3 separate regions of the Homo sapiens genome follow, and regions 2 and 3 are each linked to region 1. Evidence: promoter capture Hi-C in human tissues and cell types (Jung and others, 2019). All regions are on one chromosome and are shown on one strand. Each heading gives the region's core, a stretch centred on a gene start or on the middle of the fragment in contact. The rest is flanking DNA. Distances are from core to core; before and after follow the strand shown. Region 1 holds the start of LARP1B (La ribonucleoprotein 1B). Region 2 overlaps HSPA4L (heat shock protein family A (Hsp70) member 4 like). Region 3 has its middle 26 kb from the start of PLK4.

Region 1 (2,997 bases), core at 279-2,778:
GTGCTGCACCCATCAACTCGTCATTTAACATTAGGTATATCTCCTAATGCTATCCCTCCCCCCTCCCCCCATAAAGCACTTTAAAAACCACATTTAAAGTCTCATTTTTAATATGACTGCTCAGCAGTGTTTTGAAAACCTTTTTTCATCTTATTTCACAAAAGACTACAATCGCGCTTCCACTTACGAATAAATCCCCTTGCTCTGACTTGCTTCAATCCTTTTATGTAAAAAAAAAAAAAAAAAAGTCTACCAAAACTTTCCCATACGAAGCACTGCAGTATCTAAAGTTAGCTACTTTCCCAAGTCACTAACACTGGGGACAAAACACAATCGCAACCGCGCCAGCAGGGATGCGCCGCCAAGCTACCACCTCCGTGCCCCCATCAGGCAAGGAGAACCTGAGGTCCCACCTCTTCCTGCCGCTCCCTTCCCAGATGCCCATGTCTGTAAATAGGCAGAGTGAATGACACCTTGGAACAAATTACCTCCGACTGACAGGGAGGGGAGGCCTGCCGTTACCCGGGCCTGGTGCCCGCTACCGCCGCCACGCGCCGGCAAGTCCCGCAAGTCGCCCCTGCCCGCACCCTGCCAGTGCCCAACGCAGAGCAACCACAGACCTGCCTCCAGGGTTTCCAGCGGGGGCGGTGGCGGACCTGTCGTGTCTGGGGACAGGTGCTGGGGAGGCTTTTTGGTCCAGGGATTTCCCTTAGGCGGCAGCAGCGGCGGCTGCCGCTTTTCCGCAGGGCCAGCTGCCACCTCTTCCCGGGCGTCCTCGGCCGGCGGATCCCGCAGCAACGGCGGCAACGGCGACGGCGGCGGCGGTGGCGGTGGCGGCTCCCCGCCGAAAGGGCCCCCGGGCCCACGCGCCTTGTGCGCCAGGTGCAGCGCCAGGGGCCTCACGGGGACAGCCGCCTGGGGCACGCTGCGTCCCAGCACCAGCGCCGGCGACGGCTCTCCCCGCGCCCCAGCGCTAGTGGCGGCCGCGGCCCTCTCCTCCCTCGCCGCCTCTTTGCCCTCACATTCGGGCGGGGGCGGCTGCTCGGCCGGCCGGTTCGCCGCGGCCAACAGCGACTCCCTCTCAGCAGTCACCGCGGGCGGATCCTCCCGAGAATGGGCGGCGGGCATCGGGGCGCGAGTAGACATCGTCCCTCTGCCCCAGCCGCCCCAGCCGGGGTGGCCCCGAGGCCAGGGAACCCGACTGCCCGTCTCTCCGCCGGGACACCGGCCGGCTCCAACTGGGGACAGACAACCCGAGAGCCCGGCGGCCGTGGCCGCCGCTGCCGCCGCCCGCCGAGGCCGCGCAGCGCCCGGCGTGACGCCCCTCCCCGCACCGAACGGAGCGCCAACCGCCCGCCGGCCCCGTCCTCTCCGCGACGCACGCCCCGAGCCCGCCACCACGCGCCGGGAGCCGCAGCCGGGAGCCGCGAGCCCTCACCTGGCGCAGGGCAGCCGCGGAGGCGCAGCACGCCGAGGCCGAGGAGCTTTACCCGAGTTGGGGAGGCGCGAGCAGCCAAAGCTGGTAACTGCCCGCGGAGGCGTGGAGACGGCGAAGAGGGGCGGCCCGAGAGCACGGGGCGGGGCCTCCCTGAGGAGCGTGACGTGGCTACTCACCGGGTCCTTCTCTCGCCGGGCCTCCCGCGGGAGCTGACGGATTCGCCCGCCCGGGTGCCGCCCGGCCCGAGGGTCTGCCCCGCCCCAGCTGCCCTCCGAGTGCGAGGGAGGACGAAGGGGACGACTCCCGGCTCACTGGCTGAGGCCGCCCCGACTGCAGGCTCAGGGGCGGAGCGCGCACCAGGCCTCTGTGGCTCGCGGCTGGCTCGCGGCCTGCCCCCGCGGCGACGGCGGCCAAGGGCCTGGGCGGGCCGCGCACATGGCGCTGGGAGGACCGAGCGCTCGATTTGCCCTTAGGCCCTAAAGCTGGGTCGCAGCTAGGCTAAGGGAGGGGACGCGGTGTCGACCCCCGGCCTGGGGCAGCTCCCAAGTGAAGTGGGCTCCGCGGCCCGGCCGCTTGGCCCGCTGGCGCCCGGCGCCTCCCCCAGGTGAAAGTTGCCTCCTGGCGCCTCGGGGCACCGCGATCACCTGTAATCTTGAGCCACGTCCCAGATGAAGGGGGAGTTACCTCTCGGTAACTGTTTAGGAAACCTTTGCCCCAGCGTTCGGCTTAGTGCGCTTCCCCGCCCGCATTCCCACCCACCAACTAAAAGAGTTCTAAAGCGTTCCTGAGTAAATTAAATAGTATTTCGCCGGCTTTTAAAATTTTTTGTTACCTGTTTCTTTAATTTGGGTAAATAGCACTTAATTACAAATTAACCATATTCCCAATAGGTTTTTTCTTCCTGGAATGGATGTTAAAATGGTACAAAGACGTTTTGATAATAAATCGGATACGAGCTTTCTACTTGGCACTCACATTCACTTAGAGATGATACTCGTTTCATTTTTGAGTCAGTGTTTGTGTCCTGGTGCAAGGTGGCTGAGAGCAGGTTCCGCCGCTGATTTTTTTCCGAGCCCCCCACCAACCCCATAGCCTTGTTAAATAAATTATCTGTGCTCGCCTTATGTTTGGGCTTTCAACCCCCACCCCCCACCCCACGCCCAATAAGTCGCTTCAATTACATTCAACTTGACGTTAATATTTTTTGCTTACTCAAAAGCCGTATTCGGCACAAATAATTTTCCTAAGGCTAATAACCTATTCATACATAACAGCTATAAACAATAAGGGTTTTCTTGTTTTCCGTGTCAGTGATCTCCAGTTTGCCCAACCCTAAGCAACCTGGCGAACCTTGTTGCAATTAAAAGGGGATTGTACTTCCACCTATATTCCCATCCATCTTTACTAGCTCTGTTATTAGTGGCGCTTTGTATTTTTTATTGGTGGTGGTGATGGTGGTGGTGGTGGTGGTTTGAGACAGAGTCTCACTCTATTGCCCAGGCTGGAGTACAGTGGCGTGATCTCGGCTAACTGCAACCTCTGCCTCCCAGGCTCAAGAG
Region 2 (2,997 bases), core at 139-2,638, 240 kb after region 1:
AATAAAATCACTATGCCAAAGAGATATCTAAACTCCATGTTCACTGCAGCATTATTCACAATAGCCAAAATAGAGACTCAATCTAAGTGTCCATCAGTGAAATGATGGATAAAGAAAACGTGGTATGCATATACAACGGAATACTATTCAGCCTTAAAAAGAAGTAAATCCTGTCATTTGAGACAACTTAGATGAACCTGGAGGACATTATGCTAAGTGAAATAAGCCAGGCACAAAAAGACAAATACTGCATGATCTCAAAGGTTGAATCTAAAAAAGGTAAGCTCTTAGAATCAGATAGTAGAATTGGTGGTTATCAGGGGATGGTATGATGGAGAGCTACTGGTCAAAGGACACAACATTTGAATTAGACAAGAGGAGTAAGTCCAAGAGATCTATTGTACATCATGGTAACCACAGTTACCATATATACTTAACAATATACTGTATATTTGAAAATTGGTTGAGAGAGTAGATTTTAAGTGTTCTCCCCCCCAAAGAAAGAAATGTATGTGAGGTAATGCATTTGTTAAATAGTTTGACTTAGCCATTCCACAATGTGTGCATAATCAAAACATGTCGTACACCACAAATATATACAATTTTCCTCTCAATTAAAAAATTAAAAATTAATAGAACATAAACTGTGCTCTTACACCCTAATTTTTAGAAAAAGTTACTGGTTTATACTAACATGGACTTTAAAAAAATGTACCTTTAGTTCTTGAAGCTTATCCACATAAACTTGTTTAGGTTGGTCCTCTCCGTCTTCATAAAGCCAATTTTCTGTGTCTTCCAATACTGCAGACAGTTTACTCAAGTCCTAGTAATATATTTGAGAGACACTAATTAAAAATACTTTCCTTAGAAATAAAAGTCATCATTGGGCTCAGTGCAGTGCAGTGCCTCATGCCTGTAATCCCAACACTTTGAAAGGCCAAGGTGGGAGGATCGCTTGAGCCCAGAACTAAGAGACCAGCCTGGGCAATATGGCAAAATCATATTTCTACAACAAATTAAAAAATTAGCCAGGCATGATGGCATGTGCCTGTATTCCCATCTACTTATGAGGGTGAGGTGAGAGGACTGCTTGAGCCCGGGAAGTAGAAGTTGCAGTGAGCTGAAATCGTGCCACTGCACTCCAGCCTGGGCGACAGAGCTAGATGCTGTCTCAAATAAATAAATAAAAAAAAAATTAAAAATCATGGAAGGACAGAATGTTTTTCAAGTATAAAATATTAAATTTCAAAATTTTCTAACTTCTTATTCAAAAATATGTTTTTCACCATACTTCTGCAACTTGTAAAAATAAGAACCTTCCCCATATGGGCCCAAGATTGGCAACAATAACAACATTTGGTACATTTATTTATGTAATTTGTACTAGCATTCTCGAGTAAACCTTTAAATAGTCCTCACAAAAAATTAACAGAATTTAGACTTACTTCTGGAGTGATGAATTTTTCATAGACAGTGCCCAGCCTGTCTCTAAAATCATATACATATTCTTCAACGGCATTCTTAGCATCATTTCTTTCTTTCTCTAACTTATCTTGCATGATCATCTTCCCCTATTCAAAAAGCTTCAGATTAGTTGCCATAAGAATATGCATTAGGGAAATAGAAATCAAAACCACAAGATACCACTTCACACTCACTAGGATGATTACAATACAAAAAATAAGTATTCATGAGGATGTGGAGAAAGTGAAACCCTTGTACATTGCTGAGAGGAATGTAAAATGCTGCAGCCACCATGGAAAACGTTTTGGCTGTCCCTCAAAATGCTAAGCACAGAATTTCAATTTCACTCCTAGATACACCCACAAAAAATTGAAAGCAGAGACTTGAACAGATATTTGTATGTCAGTGTTCACTGCAGCATTATTCACAATAGCCAAAAAGTAGAAACAACCCAAATGTGCACTAAAAGATGAACAAATAAAAAAAGTATATAAACACAATGTAGTATTTTACTTCATTTTAAGAAGAAATGAAGTTATGATACGTGCTGAAACAAGGAATCTTGAAGTCATTATGCCAAGTAAAATAAGCCAGACACAAAAGGACAAGCATTGTATAATCCCACTTAACATGATTCTTATCTATTGATAACTAGGCAGTTCGCAAAGACAGAAAGTAGGGAACTGGGAGAAGGGAGGAAAATAAGTTATTATAGAGTTAACGTTTGGGGTGATGGAATTGTTTTGAAAATAGACAGTGGTGATGGATGCACAGTATGGTGAATGTAATTAAAGCCATTGAATTATACACTTAAAAATGGTTATAATAGCAAATTTCATGTAAAAAAATTAACGTAGTATACCGAAAACCACTGGATACTTTAAATGGGTTAATTATGATATGTAAATTTATCTCAATAAAGCTGTTAAAAAACAAAAGAAAACATAGCCTATGTCATTCTACATACTCAGATTAAAATCCTAGGTTCCCTATTTACTATCTTGAGATAGCAGGAAAATCATCTAAACATAAGTTTTCTTATCCTAAACAGAGAGCATAATTCCATCTAACTCATAGGGCTGCTAATAAGGTTGAGATAATTCATGTAAAATATTTAGTTCCATGTTTGACACATAACTGGTAATGAATAAAAGCCTTGCGGGGGTGGATATGGTATAGTGGTTGTGATACTGAGCTTTGGAGAACAATCACCTGGATCCAAATCCAAAGGGTATTCTCTGATCCTGGGTAATTTAGTCTACTTGTGTCTCAGTTTCCTCACCTGTGAAATGTAGTTCTCTAACAGAACCTACACTTCATAGGTTTGAGGGTAAAAATAAAAAGTATTTATAGATGTTAGTTTATGATGAACAAAAGCAAAGAAATAACCTGAAGATTATAATACTTGAGCAAAATTTTCACTTTAATAAAAACACATGTAAACGTTAAGAATCCCTTTATAAATTACAATGCATTCACATTTGTGAAGTGAAAATAATGAGACATTCAAAAGTTAAGAAAATCTCATTTTAT
Region 3 (2,997 bases), core at 239-2,738, 150 kb after region 1:
GCCAATGTGCCTGGCCTTACACTATTCTATCAAACTGGCAATAATTTTAAGAGACTCTAACACCAAGTTCTGGCGAGGATGTGAAGCAAAATATACTTTTATATGCTGCAAATGGAAGTGTAAAAAAATTAGGCGTTATCTACTAAAGTTTGACATACACAAATCGTAAGATTACTAAATTCATTGCAGTAAAATCCTAGAGAAACTTGTATGTAGCTGCACCAGAAGATGTTCATAAAGTATATATTTACAGCCAAAATCTGGAAACAACTCAAATGTCCATCAACAGTATAACATATAAACAAACTGCTGTACATTCCTACACTGGAAAACTACAAAGGAACCAGTCCAGGTAGAAAAAGGAAAGCAGAGAGATGTCTCCAAAAGAGGGGATAAATGGATCAACAAAAAAGCACAGACAGATTACCTGACATATCAGAGAAAACAAAAGAATTCCAGAAAAAAAATTGTTCAAGAAATATAATTCTAGCATAGTACATAGTTCAGCTGTGAGTATTTTCTTTTTTTCTTTTTCTTTCTTTTTTTTTTTTTGAGATGGAGTTTCGCTTTTGTTGCTCAGGCTGGAATGCTATGGTGCGATCTCGGCTCACCGCAACCTCTGCTTCCTGGAGTTTCTCCTGCCTCAGCCTCCAGAGTAGCTAGGATTACAGGCATGTGCCACCATGCCTGGCTAATTTTGTATTTTTAGTAGAGATGAGGTTTCTTCATGTTGGTCATGCTGATCTCGAACTCCCGACCTCAGGTGATCCGCCTCCCTTGGCCTCCCAAAGTGCTGGGATTACAGGTGTGAGCCACTGCGCCTGGCGGAGCTATGAATATTTTCATAGTCACAGTAATATAAACATTGAATATTAAACTACCACCATACCCCTCCCCCAGAGAAAACGAGTAGAGAGAAAAAAGGGGATTAAAGGAAACTCAGCTTGAAAGAAGTAACAGGAAAAAAAGAAAAGCAAAGCAAAAATATAGTACATGCTAGAAAGCACAAAATTAATTGCTAGACATAAATCCAAATAGAACTGTAATGACAATAAGACAGCCAGAAATAACAATATATGTAAAAATTAGAAGTTATTAAATTGTAATCAAAATAAAATTTAGCTATATGTTATGTATAAGAAAAATACTTAAAAAATAGACTCACTCATAAAGACGAAGAGATAATAAAAAGTATACTAGTTAACATCTGTCAAAGCAGAAATGTATGTTTTGAGTCATTGGCCTTTAAAATTTAGCTCAGGCCAGGTGCGGTGGCTCACGCCTGTAATCCCAGCACTCTCGGAGGCCGAGACAGGTGGATCACTTGAGGTCAGGAGTTCGGGACCAGCCTGGCCAACATGTTGAAACCCCATCTCTACTAAAAATACAAAAATTAGCTGGGCATGGTGGCACATGTCTACAATTCCAGCTATTTGGGAGGCTGAGGCAGATGAATCGCTTGAACCTGAGAGGCAGAGGTTGCAGTGAGCCGAGATCATGCCACTGCACTCCAGCCTGGGTGACAGAAGGCGACTCCGTCTAAAAAAAATAATAAAATAAAATAAAATTTAGCTCGGGATTACTTTATTTCCATTTTTATTTTATTTATTTTTGAGACAGAGTCTTGCTCTGTTGCCCAGGCTGGAGTGCAGTGGCATGATCTTGGCTCACTGCAACCTCTGTCTCCCAGGTTCAAGCAATTCTCCTGCCTCAGCCTCCCGAGTAGCTGGGATTACAGGCGTGTGCCACCATGCCCAGCTAATTTTTGTATTTTTAGTAGAGATGGGGTTTCACCATGTTTGCCAGGCTGGTCTTGAACTCCTGACCTCAAGTGATTCACCCGCCTTGGCCTCCCAAAGTGTTAGGATTACAGGCATGAGCCACTGTGCCTGGCATTTTATTTCAATTTTTAAAGGGAAATTGTTATTACTGATCATATTTTCTCTAAGGGCTTACATCCTTCCTTTCCCCAAAGTTGGATTATCAATGTGGTAATTCTTATAGATACTGCCATATTACTTTCACAGTTATCATTTACACCCTAATCAACACCTGAGAATGTCTTATACATATTGTGAGCATTATTATTTCAATTTTTTTTTTTTTTTTAAAGACAGAGCCTTGCTCTGTCACCCAGGCTGGAGTGCAGTGGCGCTATCTCAGTTCACTGCAACCTCCACCTCCCGGGTTCTAGAGATTCTCGTGCCTCAGTCTCCCAAGTGGCTGGGATTAGAGGCGTGCACCACCTAACCTCGCTAATTTTTGTATTTTTAGTAGAGACACTGCTTCACCATGTTGGCCAGGCTGGTATTGAACTCCTGACCTCAGGGGACCTGCCTGCCTTGGCCTCCCAAAGTGCTGGGATTACAGGCATGAGCCACTGCACTGGGCTATTACTTAATCTTAAACCCATTCTTTGATAAAGGAAAATTATTATCTTGCTTTAACTTTGCATTTCCCCAACTTTTATGAGGTTGAGCATATTTCCTTTTTATTGACCATATGGACTTCCTTCCTTTGTGAACTATCAATTCATATGTCTTGTCCATTTTTCTACTGTGTGACAACAGAAAATTTCCTTCAATCCCCTTTTTTCTGTTACTGGTTTTCTCTGGGAGAGGGGTATGGTGGTAGTTTAATATCAGTTCTGCAATTTATGTTGCAAATATAAGTATTATTTTTCTTCCTTATTGTCTGAGGCAAAAACCTCCAAAACAATGTTGAATAATCATAACATTGTCTACTTGTCTACTTAAAAGAAACAGCTCTAATATTTCTGATTATAAAAACCAGCAGGACACATTAGGTTAAACAGTCTTTATGATATTGAAGTTGTTTCATTCTATTCTTATTCCTTCATTAGGAATGGCTATCCCACTATCACATATTTTTTCATCATGTCAATTAATTGCATCAAGTTCTTCAGTGTTAAAATATTTCATTAAGGAATAAGAACAGCTCTGGTCTACAACTCCCAGCAAGATCGACGCAGAGGAT

What was found. Contacts are between HindIII fragments. The study calls those that stand out against the background at their distance.
Region 2: a fragment that was not itself captured here is called in contact with the fragment with the promoter of LARP1B in region 1 in 1 of the 25 tissues and cell types used here (hippocampus).
Region 3: a fragment that was not itself captured here is called in contact with the fragment with the promoter of LARP1B in region 1 in 1 of the 25 tissues and cell types used here (H1 embryonic stem cells).

What each region holds. Positions count from the first base shown.
Region 1 is chr4:128,059,843-128,062,839 of GRCh38, reverse strand. LARP1B (La ribonucleoprotein 1B) reads right to left here and starts at 1,528. Exons shown (of 20, transcript NM_018078.4): 1 at 1,439-1,528. RefSeq lists enhancers at 446-1,304, 1,305-2,163 and a silencer at 622-2,121. The HindIII fragment of the contact is 21,432 bases long and covers 1-2,997 here.
Region 2 is chr4:127,821,343-127,824,339 of GRCh38, reverse strand. HSPA4L (heat shock protein family A (Hsp70) member 4 like) reads right to left here. Exons shown (of 19, transcript NM_014278.4): 15 at 1,446-1,571; 16 at 716-823. Among named protein-coding and RNA genes, the nearest start is that of HSPA4L, 41 kb to the right of the region's middle. The HindIII fragment of the contact is 5,115 bases long and covers 1-2,997 here.
Region 3 is chr4:127,905,573-127,908,569 of GRCh38, reverse strand. No RefSeq gene overlaps it. Among named protein-coding and RNA genes, the nearest start is that of PLK4, 26 kb to the right of the region's middle. The HindIII fragment of the contact is 8,501 bases long and covers 1-2,997 here.